Linked DNA regions of Homo sapiens: region 1 is linked to region 2. The links are contacts of gene promoters, found by promoter capture Hi-C in blood cells and fetal thymus (Javierre and others, 2016). All regions are on one chromosome and are shown on one strand. The core of a region is centred on a gene start or on the middle of the fragment in contact, and the rest is flanking DNA. Distances in the headings are between cores, read along the strand shown.

Evidence for each region. Contacts are between HindIII fragments. The CHiCAGO score rates a contact against its expected background, and 5 or more counts as called.
Region 1: a contact is called between the fragment with the promoter of CEP135 here and a fragment that was not itself captured in region 2, in 4 of 17 cell types (non-activated CD4 T cells, total B cells, total CD8 T cells and 1 more). The highest score is 7.3, in non-activated CD4 T cells.

The regions. Positions count from the first base shown.
Region 1 is chr4:55,943,605-55,950,203 of GRCh38, reverse strand. It overlaps CEP135 (centrosomal protein 135), which reads right to left and starts at 1,259. Exons shown (of 26, transcript NM_025009.5): 1 at 1,145-1,259. It overlaps EXOC1-AS1 (EXOC1 antisense RNA 1), which reads left to right and starts at 2,192. Exons shown (of 5, transcript XR_941069.4): 1 at 2,192-2,364. RefSeq lists silencers at 854-1,313, 1,364-1,503 and enhancers at 718-1,682, 2,301-2,450. The HindIII fragment of the contact is 6,740 bases long and covers 1-5,085 here.
Region 2 is chr4:56,979,348-56,983,877 of GRCh38, reverse strand. The region is part of intron 1 of POLR2B (RNA polymerase II subunit B); the gene reads right to left. Among named protein-coding and RNA genes, the nearest start is that of POLR2B, 2.7 kb to the right of the region's middle. The HindIII fragment of the contact is 2,120 bases long and covers 1,530-3,649 here.

The DNA.
Region 1 (6,599 bases), core at 10-2,509, 1.0 Mb after region 2:
GGTCTCCTGAGTCTCTCCTTGGTCACTCCTTTCTGTATATCTTTCTCTTTGCTCTTGTTAACTTTTTTTGAATGGCTTCCTCATAGATTTCCTAGGTTCTTTCCACAAGAGACACCTAAGTGATGCAGGGTTTTTAGGGAAATTCCTGCAGACATCAGAAATACACCTGACAAATCCAGGTGTATTACTAGCAGGGTGTAAACTTACAGGCGGTGCACCACTCAAAACATTTCCCCTCTTTGCTACCAACTCCAGTTACCCAGAGATAATACCTCCTCACATCCTGCTTTGGAGGGGAGAGAATGAGAATGAATATGAATCAATAAATCATGGCCAGGGCCTCAATACACAGGACGGATTAAAATCCTCCCAGATAGAAACATGTTAGGCCGTCCCCACCCATGAACTGTTGTCTTTCCCCATAACCCCCATCCAAATATGGTGGCTATACTCTAAGTTTCTAGCAAAGCAACATAAAAGGTTAGGTTTGGGGGTCCCCCATACATATATGTGTAGAAGTATCCATCTACTTAACTCTGGGGGTTGGCGTCTCAAAACCAGTACATTTAATGCTGTATGTATGTGTGCACAGGGCTTAAGAAGATAAACAAGAAACCCCAAACGACAACAAAGAAACCCGTTAGCTGTGGTTATCTCAGAGTCCTTTCTTATTGAACTCAAAGTAGTAAAGGCTGGAAAGCAGTGGAGAGGCTTCAAAGGAGCTGGGCAAAGGTTAATTAAAGGCTGTCGTCCTACGCTTTGCGACATTTTTGTTACAAAGAGCATGGATGACTGCTACACTGAGAAGGCATTTTAATGTTTAAATCTATCCATTGGTCAACAGCAAGCCTGTCTGCACGGCCCACACAGACGCTCCTTGACGAGTCGGCCCAAGCTCTCCTCCACCCAATCTCCGGTTTGCAACTTTACCGTCGGGTGTTGACGGGAAGGGGGTGTGGGAGCGGGGTGGGTGGGAAGAGTCCCCGCGCCCCTCCCCGCCCGGTCTGACCCGGCCTGGCCTCACTTCCTCCCGCGGCCGCGCGGCCTCCCGGCAGTGCCCGAGCCCGGCCCGCGGGTACCGCCCAGAAGGCGAAGGCGCCACCACCGCCGCAGCTGGCCCTCTGGCTCCCACATCCGGACTCACCGGCAGCTCCAGCCGCCGTTGCCTCCGCCTCCAGCCGCATTGCCCTCAGGCCTCGAGTCCCCCACTAGCTCCTTCCGTCCAGGCACGGGCTCCGGCGCTAGAGCAGTTTGAAAATGGCGCGGAGGGACGATCGGGGCCGACACGGAGGAGGCGCCGCGGTTGCCCCGGTAACGGGAGCGGCGGACGATTAGCGGCTCGCGGCGGGGACGCGCTTGGCGACGATGGCGGAGCCCCAGTGCCCGGAAATGCAACGGCCCGGACAGCGCGAGGCCACGGCGCCCCCTGGAGGTCGGCGCCCGCGGCCAGCAAATGCCAAACCTCAGCTGGTGCCTGAGCTGGCATCCTCTTCCTCCTGTCGGCGGGAGGTGTGGATCACCTACTGCGTGCGGGGAACAAACGCCGCCCCAGTACCGGTCCCTGCAGCGGAGTAGCCTTCACCTGCAAGGTGAACGCCTGCTCACCACGTAATCCCCAAACGCAGATATCACGTTGTCTCTGCAACTTTCCCTGACAACCACCCAATGCAATTAATTATCCCACAATAGTATCTCCCGCAGGCTCTCTGTAGAACCATAGAATTCATCCATCAAAATACAATCATTTGTTGATCCGTCTCTCTCTGCCGCCCCCAAATGTGAATTCCTTGAGTCAGAGACTATTCTACTCAGCAAAACATTTGTGAGTGGAATTAAATTGAAATAAACCGTTATAGTCCACTCACAGATGGAAAACACATAGTAAAATCCTAGAATTCCATTTCTCCCCTGAAAATTTCCCAGACAGTCAGAGGGAGTTTCATTCTTTCCTGTTTACTTTTCTCCCAAATAGGCCTTCTGAGGCAGCAGAATAGGGAAGGAAGTCAGAAGACTGACCAGCTCATACCTATGGAATGCCTATCATACATACACTTAAAATTATGGCAAGCTCACGCAGGCGCACTAAGAGAGAAAAAACAAGAAAACAGATATGACAATTATAGGAAATCCCCTCCCTAGAGTTAAAGAAGTGTAGGAAGTGGGTATAAAAGAACAAAGGCTATATTAATCCAGGGCTGACACCACTTGAAGATAAGCCCGTTCCTCTCTCTGGTATATTCTTTGCTTAATAAATCTTGTGGGGTGGTTATTTGTGTGTCTCATCCAATTCTTTGTTCATAACACCAAGAACCTGGAACTCCCAACTTCCAATCTGGTAACATATTTTGGTGAGCCAGCCAGGAGGTAAGCCCAGAAGAACTGGGACTTTTTATTTTCTTTCTTTTTTGCTTCAGCTCTTTCACTTTGGTTTAAAGCTGCCTTCTGCTGGCACGGATTGGGCAGTTAAGAACGAAAAAGGCACTGGCCGCTTGAAGACTCCCATTGTTGCGGGAAAGCAGAGGACCAGAAAGACCAATGGGTGGAGCAGGAGGATTTTATTAAGGTGTGCACTGGCTCCGTGGATTTGCATCCAAAAAGCTGAGCCCTGAACAAAGACAGAGCTTGGCTTATATAGGCTAAATTAAAAAAGCAGAACCAAGGCAGTAAATCACACAGTGACAGGTTTTGTAATCTATAGCATAACTGCTGAAATTTGCATAACTTTTGGCTTTGCTTAGCTGGTGGCCTTGCAGCTGCGTCAAAAGAAAAACAGGAACCTACAAATCTTTCTAAACATAGGCAAAAATAATCATAATTAATGGTCTAAGGAAAGAGAAACAGTAAAGGAATTTGTTTTTCTTAACCATTGCTCAGGGGTGTTTGGAGCTCATTCCTGGCTTCTTAGACTAGGTCACCATGACCTTCCTATAGCCTTGCTTGTTACTATCCTTAGAGTGAGTAAATGCAGTACAAAACTTTCTTTAAATTCCTGCCTCAACGTGACAGGATAACCTGATTGGGGAATGGAACAGATGGGTCCCACGGGGTACAAGATCAATCCCTGCAACAGTGAGGTGCATGTTTGTGTGGCTATAATTATTACATTATTTGCTGCTTGTTTTTTTGTTTTTGTTTTTGTTTTTGTTTTTGTTTTTGTTTTGAGATGGAGTCTTGCTCTGTCACCCAGGCTGGAGTGCAGTGGCATGATCTCGGCTCACTGCAACCTTCACCTCCCGGGATCAAGCAATTCTCCTGCCTCAGCCTCCTGAGTAGCTGGGATTACAGGCACCCACCACCATGCCCGGCTAATTTTTGTATTTTTAGTAGAGACAGAGTTTCACCATGTTGGCCAGGGTGGTCTCGAACTCCTGACCTCAGGTGATCCGCCCACCTCGGCCTCCCGAAGTCCTGGTATTACAGGCATGAGCCACCATGCCCAGCCAGCCACCGTGCCCAGCCTTGCTGCTTGTTTTATTTTTTTTTTCTTTTCTTCATTTGTGTTGGGATATCATGTTTTGACCAATTAGAGATCTCCCCCCAACCCAAAGGGCCAGGACAACAGGTAACTGACTGTGGGGAGCCCAAGGATTAGCATCAGCCTGAAGATTAGGGCCAACCACCTGGATAATGAGAGTACCCTGCTTCTTCTGTGAGGGATCAGATCTAGATTGTTTTAGTTTAGTACATCTGGTGCTAAAAGAAAACTCCTGGTGGAGACTCTCGGATCATTGCATAAATTGCACAGTGGATCCATGGGGAAATTACTGTGCCTGGTTTATCTCATATAGTCAGAGGGCACTCTACTATCTTATTGAGAGGCCAGTCTCTAATAACAAATTTAAACTAGGCAGTCTGCAATTCCTTGCCCTTCAAACTAGAGTTACTACAATAATTAAGGAAACCATTTGGGAAGAAACTCTTTTGGCCAGCTACAGGGATACTAGAAGCCAAAGGTTACACCCAGGAACTAAAGGGAAACTTATCATAGGTCACCAATTATGGCAGGATCCTTCTTCAAATGGCACTGGTGCCCACTATGGCTAGAGACGTCTGGCACTCAGAGGACAGGTCCATTTGGGGGATGCCCAAATGGACCAAAATTACAGTCCAGATCCTTCAATAGGGGACACCCTTAAGGGAGACTCTAGATGTAAACTCATGAACCTATGAGACTCCTTTCATGCGCGTCCATGTGAAGAGACCACCAAACAGGTTTTGTGTGAGCAATAAGGCTGTTTATTTCACCTGGGTGCAGGCAGGCTGAGTCTGAAAAGAGAGTCAGCGAAAGGAGATAGGGGTGGGGCAGTTTTATAGGATTTGGGTAGGTAAAGGAAAATTACAGTCAAAGGGGTTATTCTGTGGTGGGCAGGAGTGGGGGTCGCAAGGTGCTCAGTGGGGGAGCTTTTTGAGCCAGGATGAGCCAGGAAAAGGACTTTCACAAGGTAATGTCATCACTTAAGACAAGGACTGGCCATTTTCACTTCTTTTGTGGTGGAATGTCATCAGTTAAGGCGGGGCAGGGTATTTTCACTTCTTTTGTGATTCTTCAGTTACTTTGGGCCATCTGGGCATATATGTGCAAGTCACAGGGGATTCAATGGCTTGGCTTGGGCTCAGAGGCCTGACAACTCCCTTCTTCTTTTCCACAGATTAGTGTTGGGAAACATTCCTTCAGTCCTATCTGACTCCCCTCTTGGCTGCATCTTCAATCATTGGAATCAATTTGACCCTGAAAACCTGTGAAAGAAATGCCTAATATTTTATTGTAACACCTTTTGGCCTCAATTTCAGCTAGGGAGTCAAGAGCAATGGCCAGTCAATGGAAGTCTCAATTATGACACCATCCTCCAATTAGAACTATTTTGTAAGAGACAAGGCAAATGGTCAGAAATACCATATGTGCAAGCCTTCATGGCCCTATACCAAAAGCCTACCATTTTCAAAGCTCCCAGCACTTCTCCACAGAAAGAAACTCCTAAAACTGAGCCGAATACTGTAGATAACCCCCTCTTGCAAGGGGTACATATGTGTCAGGGTGAACAATAGCCACCTTCCTATAATCCAGGTCCAAGTGCACTTGAAGCTTCAAAAGAAGGACAAGAGTCACGGGTCCTAGCGATCCCTCCCCATACTAGCTTAGGAACACCATATTCAATGACACCACCTGTCCTGCTACCTCTCAGAGAGGTGGCAGGAACTGAGGGTCCCATCAGGGTACAGGTCTCCTTCTTAATAACTGATATCCAACAATGTAAGGAAAAACTGGGCAGTTACTCAGAAATTTGCTGTTGGGTTCCAGACTTTGACTTTGGCTTTCAACCTTTCTTGGAGAGACATGCAATTCATTTTGGCCACCTGTTGCACACCTCTGGAAAAGGAATGAATATTTGAGGCTGCTCGCCAGGACACTGATGAACATTTTGCATGTAGCCTGCAGGGCAACAGATCGGGAGCAGATACAGTCCCTACTACTGAACCCATTTGGAAATATAATACCCCCATGAGAATGAATAATCAAACTAAATTTCTTGAGGCACCCCTGAGGGGAATGAAAAAAGGTGTAACAAAGGGAGTAAACTATGATAAGTTTAAGGAGATTACTCAGGGGAAAGAAGAGAATCCAACCATGTTTTACAGTAGACTAGAAGAAGCCTTTAAAATATATACAAACTTAGATCCTGCTTCTCCTGAAGGCAAGATATTAATGGCACAACATTTCATTAGTCACTCTACCCCAGACATTAGACATAAGCTCCAGAAGCTGCAAAGGGGGCCATAGACAAAACCAGTTCCTTGACACCATCTTTATGGTGTACAACAATCATGAACTGGAGGAAGGAAAAGGGGAACAGAGTAAAAAAAAACCCAGCAAGCCAGAATTATGGCAGCCATCATTAGTGATGCCTTGAATGCCCAAAGAGCATCCAAGGGAAACACAAAGGGCTACAAAGATAACGCTAGCAAAGACTCTTGCTTCAAGTGCAAAAAAAGATAGGCATTGGGCAAAGGACCATACTAAGCCTGCACTGGGCCCTTGCCATCAATGTGAAGGCACCAGTCATGACCGTTGGCACTGGCCAGTTGACTGCCCCTGCTCCCACCGAGGGGCTTGGTCAGTCAAAACTCTGGCAGTGTAAAAGGAGGAGTTAGATGAAGACTGAAGTGGCCTGGAGTCTTCCTCACTGTCCCTGTCCAGGAAAATCATCATTACTATTGAGGAGCCCCAGGTAACTCTGGACATCATGGGCACCCAAATTTAGTTTCTTTTTGATACAGCGGCAAATTACTCTGTCCTTATTGCTTGTGCAGGAAAACTTCCCTCCCAGTCCATGAATGTTATGGGAATGGAGGGGAAGCCAAAAATGAGATCCTTTGATCCTCCTTTAACTTGTCAATTTGAGAAGCAAATTTTCCAATAGGAGTTTCTAGTAATACCAAGCTGCCCAGTCCGCTTGTTAGGGGCAGATGTCATGGTTAAAATAGGGGAATTACTACAATATAAACACTGCCCAGCAGGATTGATGACAGTTGGGGAAATAAACAGTGTCCCAGACCCCATTAACAAACAGGTTAACCTACTAGCTTGGTATACCGGGAAA
Region 2 (4,530 bases), core at 1,340-3,839:
AAAAAAAGTGATATGAATATTCCTGACAAAGATCTGAAAAGGTTAGGGAAGACTTCCCAAAAGCTGGGCAGAGGCCAGGTGCAGTGGCTCATGTCAGTAATCCCACCACTGGAAGGCCAAGGCAGCAGGATCACTTGAACCCAGGAGTTCGAGACCAGCCTGAGCCACAAAGCGAGACCCCCGTCTCTAAAATTTTCTTTAAAAAGCTGGCCGGGCGCAGTGGCTCACGCTTGTAATCCCAGCAGTTTGGGAACCCAAGGCAGGTGGATCACAAGGCCAAGAGTTTGAGAGCAGCCTGGCCAGCATGGTGAAACCCCGTCTCTACTAAAAATACAAAAATTAGAAGGGCATGGTGGCGCATCCCTGAAATCCCAGCTACTCAGGAGGCTGAGGCGAAGAATCACTTGAACCTGGGAGGCAGAGGTTGCAGTGAGCCGATATCACACCACTGCACTCCAGCCTGGGGGACAAAGGGAAACTCCATCTCAAAAAAAAAAAAAAAAAAAAAACCTGAGCAGAGATCTCGTGTTATAAACAGGAGTAATCAGGCAAAAGGAAGGGACAAAGGTAGGAGTCAAGAAAGAATCCTACCAAATAGAAAAAAACAAATTGTGCAAAAGACCCCATAATGCAAGACAGGATGGCATATTCAAAGAATGATAGAAGGCCAATGTAGCGGAAGCACAGATTGTGAAGTTGGAAGTGGAATAAGAAGAGTTTGGCCTTTACCAAGAGATATGAGTTTAGCAGGGTTGTGGCTAGGTCAGATTTTCATTTCTGAAAGATCCCTATGGCCAGTGTGGAGAGTGGATTGGAAGTATACAAATCAGTTAGGAGTAATCTAGGCAAGGGATGGCAGCAACATGAACTAGAATGATGGTGGAGGGGATAGAGAAGTGGCCAGATTTGACATATTTAGGAGACAGAACCAACAGGGCTTGGTGACTGATTAGATATAGAGGTGAAAGAGAGGAGTCAAAAATGATGCCCAGGCTTTCGGTTTCAACAACAGAGGGTACAACAGTTGTACCTCAGTGTCCATTGGAGACTGGTTTCAGGACCTCCCATAGATACCAAACACAGATGCTTAAGTCCCTGACATGAAATGGCACTGTTATATACCCTAGGCACACATCCTCCTGTATCTTTTAAATTATCTCTAGATTATTTATAATACCTAATACAATGTAAATGCTATATAAATAATTATTTACTTGTAATGTTTATGGAATAATGGCAAGAAAAAAAAAGTCTGTACATTTTTACAAGGACGCAATTTTTTTTTAATATTCTCTTTTTTGTTTTTTGAGACAGGGCCTTGCTGTTACCCAGGCTGAAGTGCAGTGGTGTGATCACAGCTCACTGTAGCCTCAAATTCTTAGGGCTCAAGCAGTCCTCCCACCTCAGTATCCCGAGGAGCTGGGATCACAGGCACATGCCACCATGCCCAGCTAATTTTTTAAATTTTTTTGTAGAGATGAGGTCTCCCTATGTTGCCCAGGCTGGTCTCAAATTCCTGGCCTCAAGCTTTTTAATATTTTCAATCCAAGGTTAATTGAATATACAGATGTGAAACCTACAGATACAGAGGGCCAAATGTGCCCTTCACCGAGACAGAGAAGACAGGAGGCAGTGGCTTTGGGAGGGGAATAGCAAAAGAAAATAATTAGCTCAGTTTGGGCAGTTGACAAGGTTAAGCAGCCTGGGAGATATCCTAGTTGGCTAGTGGCAGTTAGATACCCCAGATTTTAAACTAGAAGTATACACATTCAGAAGTTATCCGCATACAGATGGTAACTGAAACAATGGAAAATGGATGAGATCACCCAAGGAGAATGTGAACAGGAAAGAAAATGAGAAAAGTCAGATAAGAAAAATCAAGTGAAAGTGATGTCGCTAGAAAGCTGAGTGAGTTTCCGGGAAGATGTCATCAACAGTTTTGAAGACCACAGGGTTTAGATAAGTTTTAAATATCCATCTCATTTATCAATTGAGAAGTCGCTGTCAATCTTAGAGCTATCTTAATGTAGTAGCATGAGTAGAAACATATTGTAATCAGTTGAAAAGCACATGAAAGATGAAAATTAGAAACAAGGACAGCTTATTATTTTTATAAGTTTGGCTGTGAGTGAAAGAAGAAAGGTAAAATACTAGAAGAAAAAGGTAACAATGAAAAGAATTTAACTTGTTTCCATGTGGATGACAGAAATCTGACATTTTCACATAGTGACTGAAAACTGATGAGGACGTTATCTAATAAACATTTCAGAGGACATGGGCAATAAAATGTAGGTTCACTGCTAAAGCAACCCTGATAAACTCTTTTTCCACAGGATCATTATACATTGCTAATAAGAATGCAAAATTAGTACAATCACCACTATGGTGGTCACTTGGCATCATCTAGCAAAATGTTAAACGTGCATATCATTTGACCTGACAATTTTATATGTAGAAATGTATCCCACAGACATACTTGGGCAAATTATACGTACAAGATTATTCATTTACAGCACTGTTTGAACCCGAAAATGACTAGAAATAAACCGAATATCCATCAAGAGACTACTTAAGTTATGGTACATCCACACAAACTAAGTAACTGGGGGTGGGGACACGGGAGGGGGGGCGCGATGCTTTCTGTGTACTGATACGAAAATCTCCTGGACACATTAAACAAAATCTAAAAGTGGAGAAAAGTGTGAATATTACTGTCTTTAAAAAAAGAGAAAATCCCATTTATATTTGCTTAAATATGCATAAGGAAACTGTGGAGGCTGGGCTTGGAGGTTCACACCTGCAATCCCAGCACTTTCGGAGGCCGAGGCAGGTGAATCACCTGAGGTCAGGAGTTTGAGATCAGCCTGGCCAACGTGGAGAAACCATCTCTACTAAAAATACTAAAATTAGCTGGGCACGGTGGTGTACGCCTGTAATCTCAGCTACTCGGGAGGCTGAGGCAGGAGAACTGCTTGAACCTGGGAGATGGAGGTTACAGTGAGCCGAGATTGCGCCACCACACTCAAGCCTGGGCAACAGAGCAAGACCATCAAAAAAAAAAAAAGAAACTGTGGAGTGATAAGAACCTCTTATAACTGTTATAACTGTAGTTACCCACTGTGGAGAGTTCAAACTGGGCAGATGGTGGGTAAGAAGGAGACGTGACACTTTAACTTGTTTTTTTTGAGACAAGGTCTCACTTTGTTCTCAGCTCATAGCAGTGTCAACTTCCCAGGCTCAAGCGATCCTCCAGCCTCAGCCCCACAAGTAGCTGGGACTATAGGTGAGCAAGACCACGCCCAGCTAATTTTTCTATTTCTTATAGAGAGGGGTCTCCCATGTTGCCCAGGCTGCTCTCGAACTCCTGAGCTCAAGTAATCCACCCGCCTCAGACTCCCAAAATGCTGGGATAACAGGCGTGAGCCACTGCACCAGCCACCCCACTTTAACATTTTTAAATTTTCTGGCTTGTGAGCTATGAGAATATATTACCCAGCCAAAAATTATGCTTTAAAAATCTTTTTTTTCGAATTTTTCTTCTACTGAGATAGTAGTTAAAAAAGAACAAGGAATATAATGATGCTAATAAATTTCTACAACACAAGATATAAATGAGACAGAAGTTTAAACAGCTTTAAAAGTTTAAGCTTTTGGCTGGGCACATTGGCTCATGCTTGTAATCCCAGCACTTTGGGAGGCCGAGACAGGCAGATGGTTTGACCTCAGGAGTTTGAGACCAGCCTGGGCAACATGGCCAGACCCCATCTCTTAAAAAAAAAAAAAAAAAATTAAGCTTTTGCTTCAATTTTTTCCATCTGATTTATCAGAAGTACCTGAGGGAATAGAGAGAGGAGATGTAGGGGGTGGCCAAGGAATTGAGAGCTATAAGAAAATAAGGTTTGAATTAGCAGATATGGAGAATGGAAAAGGCGGCTACGAAAATACACTAGACTCAACTAAGAATTTTTTTTTTTTTTTTTTGAGACAGTCTAACTCTGTCACTCAGGCTGTGGTGTAGTGGTGCGATCTCAGCTCACTGCAAACTCCGCCTCCTGGGCTCAAGCGATCGTCCGGCCTCAGCCTCCCGAGTAGCTGGGATTACAGGCGCACGCCATCACACTAGGCTAATTTTTGTATTTTTAGTAGATACAGGATTTCCCCATGTTTGTCAGGTTGGTCTCAAGCGATCTGCACATCTCGGCCTCCCAAAGTGCTGACGGGAGCCACCGCGCTCGGCCACTACTAAGAATTCCATATGCGCAAACAAACAGGTATTATACATTGGCCCAGTGCAGCAGAATACATATCATCTGAGAACTGTGACATTGTGAGAAGAGGAAGTTAAAAGTCATCCTTTAAGACAATTTACTTTGACTTACAAACAGTATGAAGAAATGTCAGACTAAACCGAGTCCCCCCCGCCACCCCCACCCCCCGATATTCTCTGTCCCGGAATATTTCCAGGACCTTCCACACTGCCTGACACAGGCTGACACTCAACAATTGAGCTATTCGTTAAGTCGACTGTGG